Regions from separate parts of the Homo sapiens genome. Here all the other regions are linked to region 1. Evidence: promoter capture Hi-C in 16 types of primary human blood cells and fetal thymus (Javierre and others, 2016). All regions are on one chromosome and are shown on one strand. The core of a region is centred on a gene start or on the middle of the fragment in contact, and the rest is flanking DNA. Distances in the headings are between cores, read along the strand shown. Region 1 holds the start of BARD1 (BRCA1 associated RING domain 1). Region 2 has its middle 57 kb from the start of LINC01878. Region 3 has its middle 74 kb from the start of LINC01878.

Region 1 (3,726 bases), core at 501-3,000:
AGCACTTAAAGCTGGGTCTGGCTTGGGTAGGTAGTTCAATGATTCAACAAACACTGAGCACCTACCTGGAGCCAAGCACTGCATGTGCCACATGAAGCGATATTGGGAAATGAGTCACATGCAGCCAATCTCTGGCCTTTTGGAGGTTTTGAACTAGAAGGGGACACGCACATAATCGTATGTGTGTGTATCTACATACACAGGTGATATGATGCACCTGAGAGAATCCAGTCTAGGAACTAGGAAAACCTTTAAGGAGTGATACTTCAGCTGTATTCTGAAGGATGAGGAATGGAGAGGAGGCCAATTCCAGGTTCCAAAGTGAATCTTTGCGCAAAAGCCATGAGGCAGCAAGGTGCAGGGGCTTTTAATGACCTAAGGGAACGCACTGTGGGGTTGGGACCATGATGGCCAGAGGAGGTTTTGACAAGAGGCTAGTCAAAGAGCAGAGAAAAACTTTAAGGAGTTTTAAGAAAGGGAAGTGCCACGATGAGTTTTGTGTTTGGAAATGTTTTAGGCGGCCACACCGCAGTCTCGGGACTGGCTGGGACCTGGATAGACACTTGGATATCAGCTAGAAAGCTACGACAGGAAACCAGGCGAGGACGAGGCAACTGGGGATGTTGTGGAGCAGAGACGGAGAGAAAATGGGTGCATTCGAGACAAGTTAGGGGGAAAAAATGCAAGGACTTGGAAATGAACTTGGGGCGCGGCAGGAAGGCATGACGGGTTGCTCTGTAGGTCTTATCTGTAAATTACGGCGATCAGTGAAAGATCTGGAGGAGGAAGGTGGACACACTCTCTAACAAAAAAAACCCTTTTTGAAATTTTATACCAATATTTTAAAAGTAAACCAGATCTTTTCAGACATGCCTTTGAGCTGATATTTGTTAACTAGTTAGAATTAGAAACTTTCCTTATTTTTACTCAGTTACAATATACGCCACAGCTGAGGTGAGAGGAAAGAAAAGGTTGCTTTCTTAGGAACAAAGAGTGGTACCTTCAGTATCGTGGGCAAAGCTTTTCCAAGTCCAACAGCAGTCAAAACAGCGCTTTTTATAAATAACACTCAGCTAAAAGTTTCTGGGTTTGTGATTGTTCCAACGGTTAAGCTCGGATGAGGGTCCCTGGAGTCGTAGCTCCCGGGAAACGTCGACTGGCTTTCCACCTGGACTTCATCCGTCCAGGCAGCCCAGAGGGGCTTCAGGCCCCGCCCGCTCTCCTGCCAACTACAGCCTCGCGACTGCGCTCAGCCTTCAGGCCCCGCCCCTTCGGTCAAGCGGCGTGCTCTCACTGCACGGCGCCTGGGCCCCGCGCGCCGGGACCTCGGTTTCAGCCGTCCTGTCCTGCCCCGAGGCCCCTAGGCCCCGCCCCTGGGCCCCGCGCGCCAGGACTTCGGTTTCGACCGTCCTGTCCCGCCCCGAGGCTCCTAGGCCCCGCCCCCTCTGTCCCCGGCGTGTTCTCGCGGCTCCGCCCCTAGGACCCGCGCGCCGGGACTTTGGCAAGTTTCAGCCGTCCGGCCCCGCCCCCTCGGTCCCACGGCTCTCGCGGCCCCTCCCCTAAGTCCCACACGCCGGGACTTTGGCAAGTTTCAGCCTCCAGCCCCACCCCTAGGTCCCGCCCACTCGGCCAGCGGCTGGCTCTCGCGGCCCCGCCCCTGTGCCCTGCGAGTCCCTATTTTGGGAGCATTGCGGCCGCCGTGCCCCGCCCCTCCCCGCGCGCCCCGCCCCTCTGGCGGCCCGCCGTCCCAGACGCGGGAAGAGCTTGGCCGGTTTCGAGTCGCTGGCCTGCAGCTTCCCTGTGGTTTCCCGAGGCTTCCTTGCTTCCCGCTCTGCGAGGAGCCTTTCATCCGAAGGCGGGACGATGCCGGATAATCGGCAGCCGAGGAACCGGCAGCCGAGGATCCGCTCCGGGAACGAGCCTCGTTCCGCGCCCGCCATGGAACCGGATGGTCGCGGTGCCTGGGCCCACAGTCGCGCCGCGCTCGACCGCCTGGAGAAGCTGCTGCGCTGCTCGCGTTGGTAAAGACGGAGCTTCTTGGGGGTGGCTGCGAGGGCACGGGTCGCACAGTTTCTGGGGGCGGCAGAATCTTTTCAAATCTTCCGTTTCCTCCTTCCGTTCCCGCGCTGCAGTCGGGTCGGCGTGCGGTTAGCACCTGCCGGGGGATATAGTATTAACAACTTCTGCTTCTCATTCACTTTATTTTTGGGCGACTTACCGGCCTCCCCTTGCCCTGAATCCAACTGAAACGGTAGTTTTTGAACTTCAGCGGGCTGAAGAACCGTCTGGAGGTGTGGCTAAAAAAATGTTCATCCCGGTCGCGCCTCCAGAGTTTGAATCGGGCTGGGGTGGGGCTGAGGCTTCTGCATTTTTTACCCGGCCCTGGATTACCCCGCTGCTTTCCGGGAGCTGTGGCGAATTGGGCTGGCGGGCCGCCCCGGAGACCCTCTAAATTAGAAGCAGCTGCCACTCTAAGTTAAACTGGCCTTTTTGACATTTTCTCCGTGCCAGCTTTTTCGAGTGAGATGGGATGGAGCATCGGATATCTACCATAGTTGTAGATTGAAGATGGCACGGAATTTCTCATTTTCTTAGTTTGCTCAAAAGACTGTATGTCTGGTGTCCCCGCTCTTAGTGATGCTGTTTATTGTTTTCCTTCATGCTGTCACATTATGGGAGTCCTCTCAGGGTTTTCATTCCGTCCAAAGACATTTTCATGAGTGTTACTTCTTGCTTTTTTTCGTGTAGCTCTTTCTAGTATACAAACCAAGAAGGTTTGTAAAACCCAAGAAAGGTTTGTCTCATTTTCATTTCTTCTGAAAAGCATTTTTATTGAGCACTTGCTGTGTGTACAGCTAAGTATTTCTGTATGAAGATCACTGGCAGTTTTTTTGTTATTTGTAGCTGTCAAAAGTTTATATCCTTTTTGGACTTTTTTCCCCTTTGATTTCTAACTTGCAGAACTTAAGTTACCTAGTTGCATAAAGTATAAGTAACACAACTTTTTCTTTTCTTTCCTTTTTTGAGACGGAGTCTCGCTCTGTCGCCCAGGCTGGAGTGCAGTGGCACGATCTTGTCTCACTGCAAGCTCCGCCTCCCGGGTTCACGCCATTCTCCTGCTTCAGCCTCCCAAGTAGCTGGGACTGCAGGCGCCCGCCATCATGCCCGGCTAATTTTTTGTATTTTTAGTACAGATGGGGTTTCACCGTGTTAGCCAGGATGGTCTCCGTCTCCTGACCTCGTGATCCGCCCGCCTCTGCCTCCCAAAGTGCTGGGATTACAGGCGTGAGCCACGGTGCCCGGCCAAACTTTTTCTTTAAAAATGAAAAGGACTTAACTGTCAGAGTTTTGCACTTATATTTTCTTTGACGAAAACTTTTAATATCTGTGACAAAATGACATTGCACTTCTTAGAAAAGTGACACTCAGATAAGTGAGTACATGAAGACATTTGAGTTGTGTGTTTGTTTTCCTGTAGCACATGGGTCATCTGAGAATAGGAAATTTAAAACTGGCACTGCTAGTTGCAATAACAGAAGCATTATAGTTCACACCTTGATAGTCCAACGAAAGTTAGACATTCCCTTGGCACATACCTATGTGGAAGCATCGGGCTTCACTTAGACTGTGGTCAGAATGCCTGAGTTCAGGTTCTAGCTTTGACACTATTGAGTAGGCCAAGTTATTCATCTCTCATTTTCCGGATATGAGTAATACTAATGATTA
Region 2 (4,235 bases), core at 695-3,194, 2.1 Mb after region 1:
ATCTTCATATAAGGTATATACCTTTCATATATTTTGTAATTTTTTAAAAATAAAATGGTTATAGCTAATTTTTGATATTTAAAATTTTTCAGTGTAGAGGCTGGGCGCAGTGGTTCACACCTGTATTCCCAGCAATTTGGGAGGCTGAGGTGGGCAGATCACTTGAGGCCAGGAGTTCAAGACGAGTCTGGCCAACATGATGAAACCCAGTCTCTACTAAAAATACAAAAAGATTAGCCAGGCATGGTGGCACGTGCTTATAATCCCAGCTACTCTGGAGGCTGAGGCAGGAGAATCGCTTGAGCCTAGGCGACGGAGGTTGCAGTGAGCCAAGATTGAGTCACTGCAATCCAGGCTGGGCAATAGAGTGAGTGAGACTCCATCTTAAAGAAAAAAAAAAATTCAGTGTAGGAAAGAAAGCAGGAGCAAAAACTAGTAAAGGAATTATTTAGTAATTTAATTAAAAATTTCTAGAAATACATTTGTCAGCTTTCTCACACCTAACTTCGAATCCAGAAGAAACTCTGTGGTCATAAAAGAGACATCTTCAGTTTATTACTTTCCTCCCTGTGAGTGCTTGTACAATCAGCATTACTAAGACAGATATAAAATCATCTCTGTATTGCTTTAAAAAATTTAATTGTTTTCAGAATTTTCCATAGCCTACAGTGAGTGTATCAAGTATTGTACTAAAGAAGTATTGCAAGGTACTGAGCCATGACTAATTTATTACCTGTAGAAATGCCTTAACGCGTAATAAGGTGTTAATTGCATTCAGGTGACACAACTGTAGTTGGAAAGATAATTTGGTGCACCTTATCTGAGCTGATGGAAGTGTGGAAAGCATTCAGGTTACACTGCAGTAAGAAGGGCAATTTCTTGAAGCTCATCAGCACTTGATAATGGACATTTAGCAGCCTAAATAGTAAATGCCAATTATTCTATCACCATTAATGAAAGCATTTCAATTAATAATAAGAGAAAATGGAAGTTTTGATTTTTAAGGTTTTGAGTTGCTCTCTTTTAAAAAGGCATTGGTGTGACTAACAGGAATATAAATTGTTTATTAAATGCTTATTATCCCCATCGGTAAGTCATTTAGGAGCTTTATGAGATACCTACCCTGAACACCACCAACATCCTCAGATAGAAGGTGAAAAACTCAGTGGATCATCCATAGGGTTACAACTTTCCACAAATGAGGATATGAACTAAGGTTAATGTTTGTAGCTGAAAGAACCGAGTGCAAGATCATAGCATTTTGAGTTGTTGTTAAAATCTACTGTCACACGTTAGTTTGATTTGTCACAGGTATACCACAGACACAGTTTGCTAAAACTTTACTCGCTGTGGAAATTTCAAATATCATTTCCTCAGCTGGGGCTCAGGATCACTCACATGTTTTACACACCGAACTTATTCAAGATAACAAATGATTAGCATTTACAGTAGATCCATATGTTCTAAACCAAAATAAGCCAATATGAAATTGAAAATGTTTAGTTTTTCATATATATCCTGTACTTAAAAATTTTTTTTCTTTAAGTTGGTTTTCACCTTTCTCTGGTATCTCCTTGAGTAGCTTAATAATCAACCTTCTGAATCTTTATCTGGCAATACAGAGAGTCCTAGAAAATCATTGCAGGTTATTAGGCCCATGCTGGCTTTACCTTTTTATTTCTCACAGATCAGTCTCTGGAATAAAATTTATAGTTGATATTTGTACTTGCATTAGTTTCATTTTGGTTTTGTATACACACAGATTGGCATAAATGCAATAGTTATTATCACATGAAAATAATAGCTGACTTTATTTAGCACAAACTGTGGTCTAAACACTGTTTTTGTTTAATGTGCATTATTTTATTTAATTCCCGTAATAGCTCTATGAAGCAAGCATTAGTTTTAATCCCCATTTTCCAGATGAGGAAACCAGAGCTTACTATATTAAGACTATTGTTACATGCCTAGTAAACAATGCTTACTAGTAACTGGAGTGAGGCCAGCTTAGACTTTTTTGATGTCTTAGGCTCAAGTATCATATAAATTGGGTGAATGAAACTTGAATGAGAGTTGTTTTATTCCAGAGTGAATGCCTATGAGGTATATTTTTCTTTTATGAAATCAGTTTAACTTGATTTTCTTTATTTTTCTTTCCTCCTCATCCTCCTCCTCCTCCTTCTTCCTCTTTTTTGGCTTCTTAAATTGTAGAATGGAATTTGGCAAGATTGTAGAATTCGTGCATGCACAAACACCAATGGAATGTTTTGTGGCATAGCTGCACCTGCCTATTGAAAGACCATAAAGTTTGGCCCTTTTAAAAGTTATACCTCTTAGCGATGGTTAAGTTAACTAATTGGCGCTAAAAGAAATTGTTAGGTGATAGCACAATTTGCAACATTGAAGTTGAAGCATGACTCCTTTAGCTTTGATTTATTTATTTGATTGATGCTGAATTATATGCTTGTGAGTCATCAACATGGTGCTTGTAAAATATTATTTCAATAGTGAAAAAACTCTAGCTAAAAAGGGAATAATATGAGAAACAGTAGGAAAACTTATTTATCTTCATTATATTTCACTATTTTATATTTTCTGCTTATGGATAATGTAGAAGATTTGAAAAGAGTTGAAAAGGTTATTAAAATTTAGGGAATTTGAAAAGACAAATACATTTCTGAGTGAGACAATATATGTTTTAGTGCAAATCAAATCTTTTCCCCTTTCAAGCCTCCCATGATTATATGCATGTGACATCTAGCTTACATAGGCATTAGGAATCACCCAGAGAGAGAGAGAAAAAAGCAATAAAAATTCAACAGACAGCCTCAGATGCGTAGAGAATAGGCTAGGAGGGAAGGTTAATGTGAGCAAGGGACACTGTGCTAGGATCTGAAGATGGGGTCCTTGTCCTTAGGAACTTTCCAAATAATTAATGAGTATACATAACACACACACAAACACATACACCACACACACACAAACTGCCACACAAGGAGGTAAAGAAGCCCCATTTGTGTAATATGAATAAACTGCTATAAGACTTCCTGGAAGAAGTAGTTAATTTGTGTGTGGGTGATGTGGACATTTTTCATGCAGAAAGTAATATTTGAGCTGGATCTTGCAATATGGGTAAGTTTTAGAGACATTCTAGGTAGAAGTAATGGAATTAGAAAAGGCATAATGGAAGCAGTGTGTAAGGTTCATTAGATGGAGAAATGAGAGTTAATTAGGGCCTGGATCATGATTATGACAGTAGGAAATGGAGAAAATGAATTAAAGGGAAATTGTGAAAGAAGACTCACTAGATATCTCATGCCCATGATGTGAATGTTCCTTGGTTTACAATGACTTTAGATTTGGATCCTCAGCCTGGAAAGTCCAAATAGCAATGATTTTACTAGTTTAACCAAAGGTAACCCCACTCAGGGAAACTGATAAGCACACACACACACACACACACACACACACACACGAGAGAGAGAGAGAGACACACACACACACACACAGAGACACACACATACACACACAGAAGCCAATTTATTTGTTTATTTTGACAAGTTGCAAGGAAAAACATAATAGGAAGTAAAGAAATTAAAGTTTGCTTAACTTTTGCTATGACAGAGATATTTAAATATGTAACAATTATCTCATCAGACTTCACCTGTTTGTAGGTTCAAACAAAATATCTTTTTGTTTTAATTTCAAAACAGCCATCTCAATCTTATCCCATACCTTAAGGATACTAAGACCTCAAACATTTGCTGTTTCTCCTCTTTTCTAGCTTTCTCTAGAAGAGCCCACAGTGTATTTAATGACTCATTTATCAGGTACCTTTATCTTGGTTTTCAATTGGATGGCCTTGGAGAGACTCTTAGGTTGCTGCTGTGGAGCGAATTTACTCAAGCTATCACCTCCAGTTTCCCTGCACTATTGGCTTTGCCCAGTTGGTTGCTGAGTTTGCTAAGCCATCATCTGGAGCTCCCTTAGGCAATAACCCACTAGCTATCAGTGCACCACTCTTGGCTTACCTCTGCCCCTTTTGTTCCACTATCAATGGCTGTATATTACTAAACCTTCATGGATGTCCTGGTCTGTACTCTATCCTCACTCCTGCTCTAGGAAAATGCTGTCTTTCTCTGTTTTATTCCTATCTGAGTGCTTTTCAGGCCTGACGGGTAAAGCTATTTTTAGTTCTGTTAGCACTGTTCAATGTACACACACACACACACACA
Region 3 (3,876 bases), core at 470-2,969, 2.1 Mb after region 1:
ATGGGTTGTCTATAAATACACCTGGTAATATGACTCACCAACCACCAAGCCATCTCACATAAAGAGGCAGAATTGTTTTGGGGCCACAGAAATCTGGTTTTGAGGGGGTGCTGTCTGGTTTCACAGCCTTGACTCCCATCTCTCTTCATTGGAGTCTTTCAAGGATGTCTCTGAATGGCTTTGCACAACACAGTGAGATGTGGTTTTGTGCAGAACTTAGGGCAAGGGGGAAAAAAAGAAAAGAGAAATAAAGCTTCCCTCTAGTAAATTGGCAGAAAAACATTTCTAAAGGTTACACACCACCCACACATTCCTTTCAAATGATCAAAGTCTTACAAGAGGTCACGGAAGGAGAAAACAGGAGAGAGGGAGCCTGAAATACTTTTTTTAAAGTGCTCTGTATTGCAATTCTTGCTGAATAAGGAACAAATTAGGACTCTTGTTAATCTTTTGGAAAATTATTGGATTGAAAGAAACAAACATTAAATTGAATCGGTAAACTGATATCTCTAAAATGAACAATGCCTATCTCTTTCTACATCTCATTCCAAATTCAACACTGTTTTTGTCCATCGCATTTTTAAGTATTTAATTTAGTTATTTATTTATTTTTAGTTTTAATTTTCATAGTCCTCTATACTTCCTGGTTTCAGCAGAATTCACTAAACTAGTCGTCTTGATATGCCAGTCCATCCCCACATGGGAAATACTTAACATTTAAAAGAAATCTGTCTGGACGTGATTTTCTTACCTATCGGTAGTTTCTAAACTCACACCTTGTCTTTGAAATCGGCCTTAGTTTTGTAGGTATCTTGGGCCATTCTTTATAGCTTGGTTGTGGCTCTCCACTCATTTTCATCAGGTAGAGTGAAATGGTCCCTTGTCTATATTTTCATAGAAATATACACCTCGGTTAGAACTTATAAGTTTTGTTTGCTGGCCTCATCCTGATAGTGGAATCTGCTCAAGGGAAAATACTGTTTTCTACGCATTTGCATCCCTAACTCCTAGCAAACTGTCTGACAGGTAATGGATACTCAATAAATATTTGTTGAAAGAATTAATATATCTTTTTTAATTTGCAAAGCTCCAGGTATAAATCTGTGGTTTTTCTTGACACTCTCCACCAGGTGCAAGTGGCTAGGGACCAGAAATTTTTGTTGTTGTTTAATCCCTCTTTGCCATTTGTTGCCCTACCTTCCTTCCCAGGTTCCCTGTTGCCTTGGTCCATACACAAACAGATTCTATCACAATACAAAAGAAAAGATGTAAAAAAAAACCTCTAGAAGGTACTTTAGGTTTTCAATGAAAGGAAATTTTACAACAGGTTTGTGCTTGATTCTATTAAATACTGATTGCTTAATGCCTATGGTGACTTGCTCATCTCTAGTATTGTATGAGTGAAATTCTGAACATGACAGTCTCTTCTCTTACTCTCCAGTTACAGGTTCTGTTAGCTGCTTTCTCCATTGACTTCTGTCTAAGCAAGCTGCCCCTAACTCCAGGTATCTTATTTGACGACTGCAGTACCTTTCCTTGACCTCTGGCTTTAAGATGGACCTTGGTTTTGAAAAGCATTTTACTTATGCCTTCTTCTGTCCTGAAGTCTAGAATAAACTTAAGGCCAGTACTTGCTTTCTGGAGCGTGGTCTGGTCAAAGTCCCCATGGCTGCTGTAATCAATCTGAGAAATCTGGAAGATCATGAATGCCTATGTAGATCTCTTAATTTGACAACTCTCAACACAGCTCAAGTTGGATTTACTGAGTCCCCACTTTTTTTTTTCCCTTATTTTATTTGCTGTCCTCATCCCTGCCGGATGCTGAGTAATCCCCGCCTCAGGAATTTGTGGATGTTGAGATGATGGACACATAGGTACCATGGATATGAAGTGAAGTGTACATAGTAAATAGAAGAGGGAGTCTAAAAGAAGAAAGTCTATAAATTTAGTCAAGAGGTAAACAACAACCAAGGAGAGAGAGTGGACTGGGCCCTTATAATAGCTATTGAGAGATGACAACGTGCTATCAGCCCTTGATCGCTCTTGGCACCTCCTCAGGCCATGGCGTCCACTCTGGCCGAGCTTCCCGAAGCTCGGCACTGCACTGTGGGAGCCCCTCTCTGGGCTGGCCAAGGCCAGAGCCGGCTCCCTCTGCTTGCAGGGAGGTGTGGAGGGAGAGGCGCAGGCGGAACCCGGCTGCGCGGCGGTCGCAGGCCAGCTCGAGTTCCGGGTGGGCACGGGCTCAGTGGCCCTGCACTTAGAGTGGCAGGCCGGCGCTGCTGGTCCGTGCAGTGAGAGGCTTAGCACCTGGTTCAGCAACTACGGAGGGTGCAGCGGGCCCCCAGCAGTGCCGGCCCATGGGTGCCACGCTCGAATTCTCGCTGGGCCTCAGCTGCCTCCCCGCGGGGCAGGGCTCCAGACCTGCAGCCCGCCATGCCCAAGCCTCCCCCGCCCCGTCGTGGGCTCCCACACGGCCCTACCCTCCCCAACGGGCATCTCCCCCTGCTCCGCGGGGCCAGTCCCATCCACCGCCCAAGGGCTGACGAGTGCGGGCGCGTGGCGCCGGACTGGTGAGCAGCTCCGCCTGCGGCCCCAGCGCAGGATCCACTAGGGGAAGCCAGCTGGGCTCCTGAGTGGGGTGGGGACTTGGAGAACTTTTATGTCTAGCTGGAGGATTGTATATGTGCCAATCAGCACTCTGCATCTAGCTCGGAGTTTGTGGATGCACCAATCAGCACTCTGTATCTAGCTAATCTGGTGGGGACTCCGAGAACTTTTATGTCTAGCTAAAGGATTGTAACCGCACCAATCTGTGCTCTGTGTCTAGTTTATCTGGTGGGGACTTGGAGAACTTCTATGTCTAGCTGGAGGGTTGTAAATGCACAAATCAGCACCCTGTGTCTAGCTCAAGGTTTGTAAAGGCACCAATCAGTGCTCTGTGTCTAGCTAATCTAGTGCGGACTTGGAGAAATTTGTGTGTAGCTAAGGGATTGTAAATGCACCAATCAGCACTCTGTGTCTAGCTCAAGGTTTGTGAATGCACCAATCAGCCCCTTGTCAAAACGGACCAATCAGCTCTCTGTAAAACAGACCAATCAGCAGAATGTGGGTGGGGTCAGATAAGTGAATAAAAGCAGGCTGCCCGAGTCAGCGGCAGTAACGATCTCTGCTTGGTGGAAGCTTTGTTCTCTTGCTCTTCGCGATAAATCTTGCTGCTGCTCACTCTTTGGGTGCGCACTGCCTTTGTGAGCTGTAACACTCACCACGAAGGTCTGCAGTTTCACTCCTGAAGCCAGCGAGACCACGAAGCCACCAGAAGGAAGAAACTCTGGACACATCTGAACATCTGAAGGAACAAACTCTGGACACACCATCTTTAAGAACTGTAACACTGACCGCGAGGGTCCACGGCTTCATTCTTGAAGTCAGCGAGACCAAGAACCCACCAATTCCGGACACACGATGAAGTGGGTTAGGGAAGAATTTGGAGCAAGGGCTAGGGATTTGTGAAATGTGAACTCCCCTCCAGCACCAGGTGATGATTGGCACATGTGGGTCCTCTAAATGTGGCTGCCCAAATATGGGGCAGGCAGGGAGGTTGGGGATCTAAAAGCTGTCAAGTGTCAAACATTAAAAAGAGGTCACTCCCTTTATGCCAACACAGATTATGCATTTTAATAAACTAAGGCAACTCTTTTGCATTTTTATATTTGAGAACCACTGGTTTGTGGGCCCTTCTGATGGAGGTGAGCCTCTGGTTGTCTTAATTCATGTGCTAGAAGAGGCTTTCATCTCCTGATTCCAAACGTGGTCCACACCACAATTGTTTGGGTCACCTAAAGGCACTCCAGAAGGGCAGTCTGCTCTGACTTCTCA

What was found. The method cuts DNA at HindIII sites, captures the fragments that hold promoters and counts their contacts. A CHiCAGO score of 5 or more calls a contact.
Region 2: a fragment that was not itself captured here is called in contact with the fragment with the promoter of BARD1 in region 1 in 1 of 17 cell types (fetal thymus); the score reaches 5.4 in fetal thymus.
Region 3: a fragment that was not itself captured here is called in contact with the fragment with the promoter of BARD1 in region 1 in 1 of 17 cell types (fetal thymus); the score reaches 6.3 in fetal thymus.

What each region holds. Positions count from the first base shown.
Region 1 is chr2:214,807,707-214,811,432 of GRCh38, reverse strand. It overlaps BARD1 (BRCA1 associated RING domain 1), which reads left to right and starts at 1,750. Exons shown (of 11, transcript NM_000465.4): 1 at 1,750-2,021. The coding sequence starts at 1,864. SNHG31 (small nucleolar RNA host gene 31) reads right to left here and starts at 1,204. Exons shown (of 4, transcript NR_110292.1): 1 at 1,001-1,204. RefSeq lists a silencer at 1,272-1,841 and enhancers at 2,392-2,471, 2,762-2,811. The HindIII fragment of the contact is 4,673 bases long and covers 1,023-3,726 here.
Region 2 is chr2:212,736,175-212,740,409 of GRCh38, reverse strand. No RefSeq gene overlaps it. Among named protein-coding and RNA genes, the nearest start is that of LINC01878, 57 kb to the left of the region's middle. The HindIII fragment of the contact is 9,709 bases long and covers 1-4,235 here.
Region 3 is chr2:212,719,743-212,723,618 of GRCh38, reverse strand. No RefSeq gene overlaps it. Among named protein-coding and RNA genes, the nearest start is that of LINC01878, 74 kb to the left of the region's middle. The HindIII fragment of the contact is 2,927 bases long and covers 256-3,182 here.